Linked DNA regions of Homo sapiens: all the other regions are linked to region 1. The links are contacts of gene promoters, found by promoter capture Hi-C in human tissues and cell types (Jung and others, 2019). All regions are on one chromosome and are shown on one strand. Each heading gives the region's core, a stretch centred on a gene start or on the middle of the fragment in contact. The rest is flanking DNA. Distances are from core to core; before and after follow the strand shown.

Evidence for each region. The method cuts DNA at HindIII sites, captures the fragments that hold promoters and counts their contacts. A contact is called where the count stands out against the background at its distance.
Region 2: a contact is called between a fragment that was not itself captured here and the fragment with the promoter of KLHDC7A in region 1, in 3 of the 25 tissues and cell types used here (H1 embryonic stem cells, bladder and neural progenitor cells).
Region 3: a fragment that was not itself captured here is called in contact with the fragment with the promoter of KLHDC7A in region 1 in 1 of the 25 tissues and cell types used here (H1 embryonic stem cells).

The regions. Positions count from the first base shown.
Region 1 is chr1:18,479,555-18,482,254 of GRCh38, reverse strand. KLHDC7A (kelch domain containing 7A) reads right to left here and starts at 1,325. Exons shown (of 1, transcript NM_152375.3): 1 at 1-1,325. The coding sequence starts at 1,273. RefSeq lists enhancers at 503-1,374, 1,375-2,247. The HindIII fragment of the contact is 16,937 bases long and covers 1-2,700 here.
Region 2 is chr1:18,426,547-18,429,246 of GRCh38, reverse strand. No RefSeq gene overlaps it. Among named protein-coding and RNA genes, the nearest start is that of KLHDC7A, 53 kb to the left of the region's middle. The HindIII fragment of the contact is 8,650 bases long and covers 1-2,700 here.
Region 3 is chr1:18,541,689-18,544,388 of GRCh38, reverse strand. No RefSeq gene overlaps it. Among named protein-coding and RNA genes, the nearest start is that of KLHDC7A, 62 kb to the right of the region's middle. The HindIII fragment of the contact is 9,649 bases long and covers 1-2,700 here.

The sequences.
Region 1 (2,700 bases), core at 76-2,575:
CTGAAGCAGGGGTGAGCGGGATATGGAAGAAATTGGTCCCGGCCACCGGCTGCACATGGGGCTCCCGGCTGCTTCTGCCTAAGCCAGGCAGGGCGCCCGGGTCTGGGCAGGGTGGAGCGGGGAGCCGGAAGCCATCTGGCTGCAGCTGCAGCTCTGGGTTCTCCGCTATCTGCAGAAGGCTCTCCTTCCGGCTGAAGCCTCGGGTGGAGGGCCACGGCCCTGTCTGCGGGGAGGCGGCTCTTTCGGCTGCACCCTTTGTGTCACCGGCTTGGCCTCCCGAGGCAGCCCCTGTTCCCAGGGACCCTGGCGGTGGCCTAGGGGATGGAACCTCAGTCAGGGCTGCTGTCCTGGGAGCCAGCCTGCCCTGGAAGATGGCCTGAGAGGTAGATTCCACATAGTAGTCGTACACCTTGCCCTTGAGCCGGGGCTCAACCCCCTCCGCCTTCTGTATGAAATGCTCCTCCATTCGGACGCGGGCTATGGATGAGAAGGTATAGGAGGAGTTGGGGGCGCCCTCCTGCTGATGCAGGGTCAGGTCAACATCGGAGGCAGCCTCGAGAGCCCCAGCCTCTTCTCTGCTGACCCCTATCACACGGGTGAAGACCCAGCTCTGGTTCATGTCACTGCTGCCTTGCAAGGGAGCCACGTAGTGACAGTGGGGAGGTTCTAGTTGCCCCAGTCCTGGATGCTCACGGGGTTTACTGTCCTGCCATGGAGAAGGCTCACCACCGGCACAGCTGCCGTCGGCTGCTGCAATGAGTCCAGCTGGGGAGCTCTTCGGTTCGCTGCCCAAGCGGGGGAAATGGGGAGGGTCAGGGTTACTGCCAACAGCTGTTCTGGTTTCCTGGCTGGGGCAGCAAGGAGGCACCTGCTCAGAGTCCGAGCCCTGCCCGCCCCGCTCCTCACCTGAGCCTTTTCTCTGGGGCTTCCTGTCTGTGGAAGTGGCCCCCGTGACCAGGACATAGGGGCCTCTTGGATTCTCACAGCTGCAGCCCTGTGGTGCTTCAGCCCGCTTGCTGCTCCTCCGACGTCTTGGCCCCCTCAGGAGCACCCCAGGAGAAGCCTCCTGTACAGCAGGCTGCCCTGAGCCCTCTGCTTCCTCCTTGGCTTCTGCCTGGCCATTCCCACCCCACCGCTGGGCTGGGGCAGGCCTCGACTTGTACAGCCTGTAGGCCACAGTCACCAGGAGCAGGGCAGCGGCTGACAGCACCACCTTGCCGGTCAGCTGCATATCCAAATGCCAGTCCTGGGCCTCTGCTCCTCTGGGGAACATGCTTCTCCAGCCAACCTGGGGCTGAGGAATGTCAAGAATCTGATTAATAATTGCCCAGTAGGGACCAGTTCCTGGGTCCTGCTGAGCGGAGGGGAGGGAGTTCTGGGCTGGTTCTGGCTGGCCAGCCGAGGAGAGGAGAGGAGCAAAGGTGACTTTGAGCTGCAGAGGGTGGCCGCTGGGGCCCAGAGCTGGCAGATCCCAGCGGCTGGCCTCCTTCCATGCTTCCCTGGTGGCTGGGGTGGGGGGCCCGCCCAGGGGCTGAGCTTGTGATCAGCCACCTAAGCCAGCTCTGTGGTCAGCAGCTAGGGGATGTTAGGAGTATCCAGTGGGCATACAAAAGAGGAGGAAGCTCTTAACCAAACAGTCACCCGATGCCAGGAAATGCATGGGGTTGGTTATTCTTTATGTGTGTGCTTTATTTTCTCTTTTGCAAGTCCACTGGGCTCAGAGGCTTGGGTGTGGTGAGTCATGGGCAGGTGGAGCCCCAGTAGGCGTGGATGGGGTCATTCTTGTGAGGTCTGCTGGTCCTCACAGTGGGGTCAACTTTATGCTGGCCAAGCAGGGAACGGGAACATGGCAGTGGAGTCTGGAGCCAGGGCATGCAGCCAAGCCACCTGAGCCGGCCCTTGAGTGCCTCTGCCCTCCTTCCCTGCCTGACAAGTTTATTAAGAAAAACCAGCCTTTCTGAGAACAGTGGAGAAAGACATTGCATTAGTGCTCAGATCGGGGTTAGATGTGGACACATCTTCTCTTTTAAAACCAGACAATCTCCTACGGTGAAAGATTGAGGGAAGACTCACGTCTCCCAGACCCCCCCTCACCATTTCCCCTCCCCCATCACCAGTGCTGTGGGTCCTGGACCCAGACTACCTGGCTCTGCTACTTACCAACTATATGACCTTAGGCAAGAGACCTCACCGCTCTGTGCTTTGTCTGAAAAAGGAGGATGACAGCATACGCACCTCATCAGCTTGTGGGGAGAACTAAATGGGCTACTAGGAATAAACACTGGGGCAGAGCCCCCATCATGAAAGCTTAGTAAATATGAACTATTCTCTGCTTCTTCCTCCTTTTCCTCTTTCTGATCATCGGCACCATCATCGCTAGTATCAATTGTCATCAGAGGACCTTCCAAAGCACAGAACTAATTCTACCCTTCTCCTGACCAAGGTCCTCAAAGAGTCCCCAAAGTCCTGTGCAGGGGTCTCAAACTCTTGCTGCATATGGAGGCTGGGTAGGTAAAGTGAACAAGTAAGGACGTCTGTCCGCCCCACCCCAGCCGATGGTATCAGGCCCAGCATTGCCTCATCCTCCCACTGTCGCAAAAAGCTTAGAATCCCAGTAGTGACATAATCACTCTCAATTTTAAAATGTTGGCATCTGATTCAAAAATGAAACTGAAAAACACTGTGGGCCACAGGAAGCAC
Region 2 (2,700 bases), core at 20-2,519, 53 kb after region 1:
TCCTGTAAGGGAACTGTGTAGACAAGATACCAGGTCGATATTTTCCCAAGCCTATTGGCTTTAAAAAGTCAACCTTAATCCCTCAAAGCAGTCTGTTCATATTTGAAAATATGATATTCAGTCAAAACTTTAGTAAGATAACCAGTGTTTCCAACATGTCCTATTATGTAAGAAAATAGATCCTTATTGAATTTATGGAGGTAACTATATTGCCAAAAAATAAGGATATTTATAATTCCTGAATTCTGGAGAAATCAGGTAGAGAGGAGGGTAAATGTTTCAATTTTGTTCACAAAAGTATATTTTACACAATTGCTATATGCTATAAATAGCTCAAAAGAAAAAAAAGAATTTCTTGACTCTAGAAAACAAAACACAAAAAGGATCCGCAATATTTCAAACCAAAGCCATAAGAATGATTTTAATTCTCTATCAGTTCAATCCAATGTAATTAATTCTAGTTTTGCTTGATCTTGAATTAGGAATCTTCATGAACTCATCAGGTTTTGTTTTTCTTTTTACTACAGTTCTGGAAGTTTTTATCTAGTCCAATAGTATAATCTCCAAAGTTATTGGAAACCTGTATTCAAGATTACTTGTCAGAGTCCTTTCCATGAATTGCCTTGAAGACTCAACACTTTAGGATCTGCCAAGTGCTTTTAGAAAATAAAGCATCAAACTAAAGCAATTTACTGCCTATACTAAGACATACCACAAATGTCATGCAATTTTTGAACACATATTAAACCAATTTATGCCTAGTGTTCCATTACTGGAACACTAAGCACATGGGTTATTTATATCATACTGCTCAAGGTCATCACCAAGGTCTGATTGCAAAAATTCAAAAAATTGCAACCTCAGGCATAAATGGGTTAATAACATATCCATAAAAGTAGAACTCAAAAAAAGTCAAATCCCATTTCTTATTTGACAATAATTCCGGTGTGATTTTAACATACCAAATAAGCCTAGTATGTTTCTCTTGGACTTCCAGTGACCCTATATGGAATATCCAAATTAGTTTGGGGTCAAAAAGTCTAAATTTTAGGATTTAAGATTTGATTTGGGGAAGCATGTTAAATATCAAGGGTTTAACACACTTGATATCAAAATGAGAAAAGTTTAAAACACTTGATCAAAACAGGATCATAGATCACTGTTAAAAAAAGGTAATTTATTTAGCCAAGTGATAATTCGAATATTTCAAAAAGCAAAAATGTTGCTCTTTGATAGAGAGGAGACTCAGTTTTCCAAACAATCAAAACACCTAATAAAGACATTATGACAACAACAGAATCTGTCTCTCCCTCTCTCCCCTTCTGTACTTTTTTGCAGATTATTCAAAAGGCGAACAAAAATCTTTTACCTCTTATTAATACTACATGAAAATCTTGTTCAAAAGAGAAAATCAGGCTGGTCACAGTGGCTCTATCTGTAATCCCAAGACTTTGGGAGGCCGAGGCAGGAGGGTTGCTTGAGGCCAGAAGTTTGAGACCAGCCTGGGAAACATAGTGAGAACTTGTCTCTACAAAAAATTTTAAAAATTAGCCAAGCATGGTGGCTCATGTCTGTAGTTCTAGGTACTTGAGAGGCTGAGGCAGGAGGATTAATTGAGCCCAGGGTGTCAAAACTGCAGTGAGCTCTAATTGTGCCACTGTACTCCAGCCTGGATGACAAAGTGAGCTCCTGTTTCTAAAAAGAGAGAGGGAGAGACAGAATCAAATTCTGCCCTTGTATCAGTGTATTATTAATACTAAAGCTAATTTTTAAAAAACCTTATTAATATATCCATCCAATCTCAATCAGCATTGACCACGCAAGATTTCTATAAACTTTTTATAAACTCCTACAATTTTTCTCTTTTTCTTTTCCAAGCATTTCATATCCATTCAGTTTTATCTATCATTTTAAAAATTCCTTCAATTTAAAACAACATGTAAATAGCCTCTAAACTAGGCAAAACTACTTTCCCTTTAACAAAAACCACATTCTCATGTTTTTATAATCCTTTTTTAAATGAAAAACACATTCTACTTTTATTATATACTTTGCATATAGAATTGCTTCTCTTACAGCTAGTAGTTTTAATTATATATATATATATTAATTACAATGTTAACTCTTAGTAACTGTAATTTTTAGTGAAAAACCTAGGAAGTAAGCATTTTGAGTTGTTATATACCAGACTTGGAGCCTAGGACAGAGGACAGAGCTGTGAAGACCATGTCTAAGGGATTAGATCCTTCCAGGCATGACCAAGAGGCACAGCTGGGGCAGAGAGGATGCGGTCCAGGCTGTGGGGACACACATATGTCCCCAGTCCTCACCATGGCCACTTGTGTAGACCCCAGAATCCAAAGGGTCAAAATCAAAGCATAAGCTCATAAACAAATCAAACAAATACAAAAATATCATAGAAGTCACAGTTATATGACCCTAAAACATCCCATAAAGACAGTATAAATTGGTCTGACCAGTACACCCAGGCAAAAATGTCTTAAATTCTAAAAACATTATATTTTATTTTACCAACAATTTTAAAACTAGTGTTATTCATGAAAGATAACTAACATCATATGAATTTGAAAAGCATTTGGGATTATTAATTTATGAGTATTCATTTATTTATAAGTCAATTTGGTACCAGGTAGACAATATACAAATACAGATATGTACAAATAAAATACAGACAGGTGC
Region 3 (2,700 bases), core at 38-2,537, 62 kb before region 1:
TTGCTAAGTGCCAGGCACTGTCCTAGGCATTTGAGTATATGGGTGAACAAAATAAAGAAACGTGTCCTCTTGGGGCTTGCATTCTAGCAAAAGAAAACAGACAATATGTAATTTTCTCAGTCAGATGCAGTGACTCACACCTGTGATCCCAACACTTTGGGAAGCCAAGGTGAGAGGATCGCTTGAAGCCAGGAGTTCGAGACCAGCCTGGGCAACATAGTGAGACCTTGTTTTCAAAAACAAAAAAAAAATAAAAAAATTAGCTGAGTGTGGTGGTGTGCACCTGTAGTCCCAGCTACTCGTGAGGCTAATGTGGGAGAGTCACTTTAGCCCATGAGGACAAGGCTGCAGCGAGCTCTGGGTGACAGAGTGAGACCAATTATTATTGTCTCAAAAGATTATAATAATTTTCTCAATTAATCTTGTTGGAGAAATTTCAGATGCTTCATGTAGAAACTGAAGACCTGGCCTTAAAACGGGGCCCTGGGCTCTAGCTTGACAGCTGCTGATTGCTTGAGAGTTGTGATGTCTCGGCTTTGAATTTTGCCATGTGCCAGCTGTTTTAATACACGTTTCTCATCTTCCCAGCTCTGCAAAGCTGGTGCATTAGTTTCCTGAGGCTGCTATAACAAGTGACCACAAAGTGGCATCTTTAACAATAGGCATTTATTCTCTCACAGTTACCGAGGCCGGAAGTTCAAAATCAGGATCACTGGGCAGAAAGCAAGGTGTCAGCTGGGCTGTTCTTCCTCCAGGGGCTCTAGGGGAGAATCTCTTCCAGTGTTGGAGGCTGCCAGTATTCCTTGGCTTGTGGCTGCATCACTCCAGTCTTCAAGGACAGCATCTTCAGATCACCCTCTGCTCCATCTTCATGTCACCTCCTCCTCTGTGTGTCTTTGTAAAATATCTCTCTGCCACTCTCTTATAAGGGACAGTGGTGATTGCATTTAAGGTCCTCCCAGATGCTCCAGGATAATCTGCCCATCTCAATATCCTTAACTGAGTCACATCTGCAAAGAATCATTTTTATTTTGCCCTATAAGGTAGCACTCACAAGTTCCAGGCATTGAGACGTGAATATCTTTTAGGGGTCCATTCTCAGCCTACCACAGCCAGGTATCACAATTCTCCTTTTCTAGTGGGGTTAAGTCACCTATTCAGTGTCCCACCATGAGGACATGGCACACCTGGGGTTCAAACCCTGGTCTTTTCATGTTCTTTCCACCATACGACACTGCACTCCCATACTAGGTGCACACTCTGCAGATGAGCAAACTAAAGCTCTGTGAGCTGACACGATTGGGCCAAGGTCATGGGTGACCGCAGCCTTTCCATGTCTTGCGTCCTTTACCAGGTGGCCAAATTAGAGTCCGTCTGATGCATCCTCCCCCAGGCCTGTGCACCCTGAGCTGGCACCAGGCCTCCAGTTGCCACCAGAAAAATGACAACAGAAGGGGTGGCCGGGAACTCCCGTCTGTCTCTGCATTTACCAGCTTTTAACTTTCAAACCAAGTCAGCCTCAAGGCTAATTTTCTGCAGCTTCCAGTCGTTCAGCTCCATCAATTGTGCCTGACACTGTGAAAGCTTTTGCTATTGATTCTGGGCTATGTTAACTTTCTTTCTCCCTCTCCCCACCCCCAGCCCCAGCCTCAGCTCTCCTGCAGTTTTTGGTCCACCAATTAGGTATTGCCGGGGACAATGTGGGGTGGCTGCTGCTGCCTTTCAATTACCGTCACAGTAAATACAACTTACTCTCCACCCCCGGAGTCCCTGCTGCACTCAGAAAGAGAGAACACTGCCTAAATGACTCCTCTCTCCGGCCTGACACTCCACAACTCTAGCGGATCAATAAGTCTATCACCCCGTGGGGCTCCCTTGAGACCACCCAGCCTTGTTAATTGGCTCTGGGAGATGGCTGGTTGGCAGAGGAGTGTGAGTGTGTGAGTGCGGATGTGTGAGTGTGTGTGTAAATGTGGATGGGGGAGGTGGCTTCTCCGCTCCCCATCCCCCTCCTAGGGATGGGAGAGCCCCTTCAACATGGATTAGGTGGGGAGGATCTCTGACTCTGGAAAACAGCCTTTGAATTGCAGGGATGGCAATATGTGATTCCTCCAGATTTAAATGGTCACAAAGCAAAGAGATAAATGGAAGTGTTTCAAGGTCGTAGTGGGTAAGCCCTTGATTCTGAAGTCAGGTTGACTTCAGTTCTAATCCTGGCTCTTTCCCTAATTTGCTGTATGGTCTTGGGCAAGCCACTTAGCCTTTCTAAGCTGCTGTCTATGAAACAAGCATCATGTCTCCAGTCCCAGAAGACTGTTTTGAGGGTTAAATGGAAGAATGGATGTCAAATGGCACATCAGTAAGTGACAGTGATGACTGAGGTCCTTGGAGTTCTAGGGTGGTGGGGTGGGTCGGGCAGGTCTTGATGTCAGGCAGACAGGAGCACAGATCCTGGACCTGCCACTTACGAAGCCACATGATCTCGAGCAAGTCATTTTCTGTGTCTCAGTTTCCTCTTCTAGAAAATGGGGGAATAACACCATTGTATGTGGCTGAATAGTGTCTCCCCCAAATCCTTGTGAACCTGGAACTTCAAATGTGACCTTATTTGGAAATAGTGTCTTTGCAGATGTTATCAAGTTAATACTGAATCATGCTGGATTGGGGGGGGGGTCATAAATCCAATGACAGGTGTCTTTA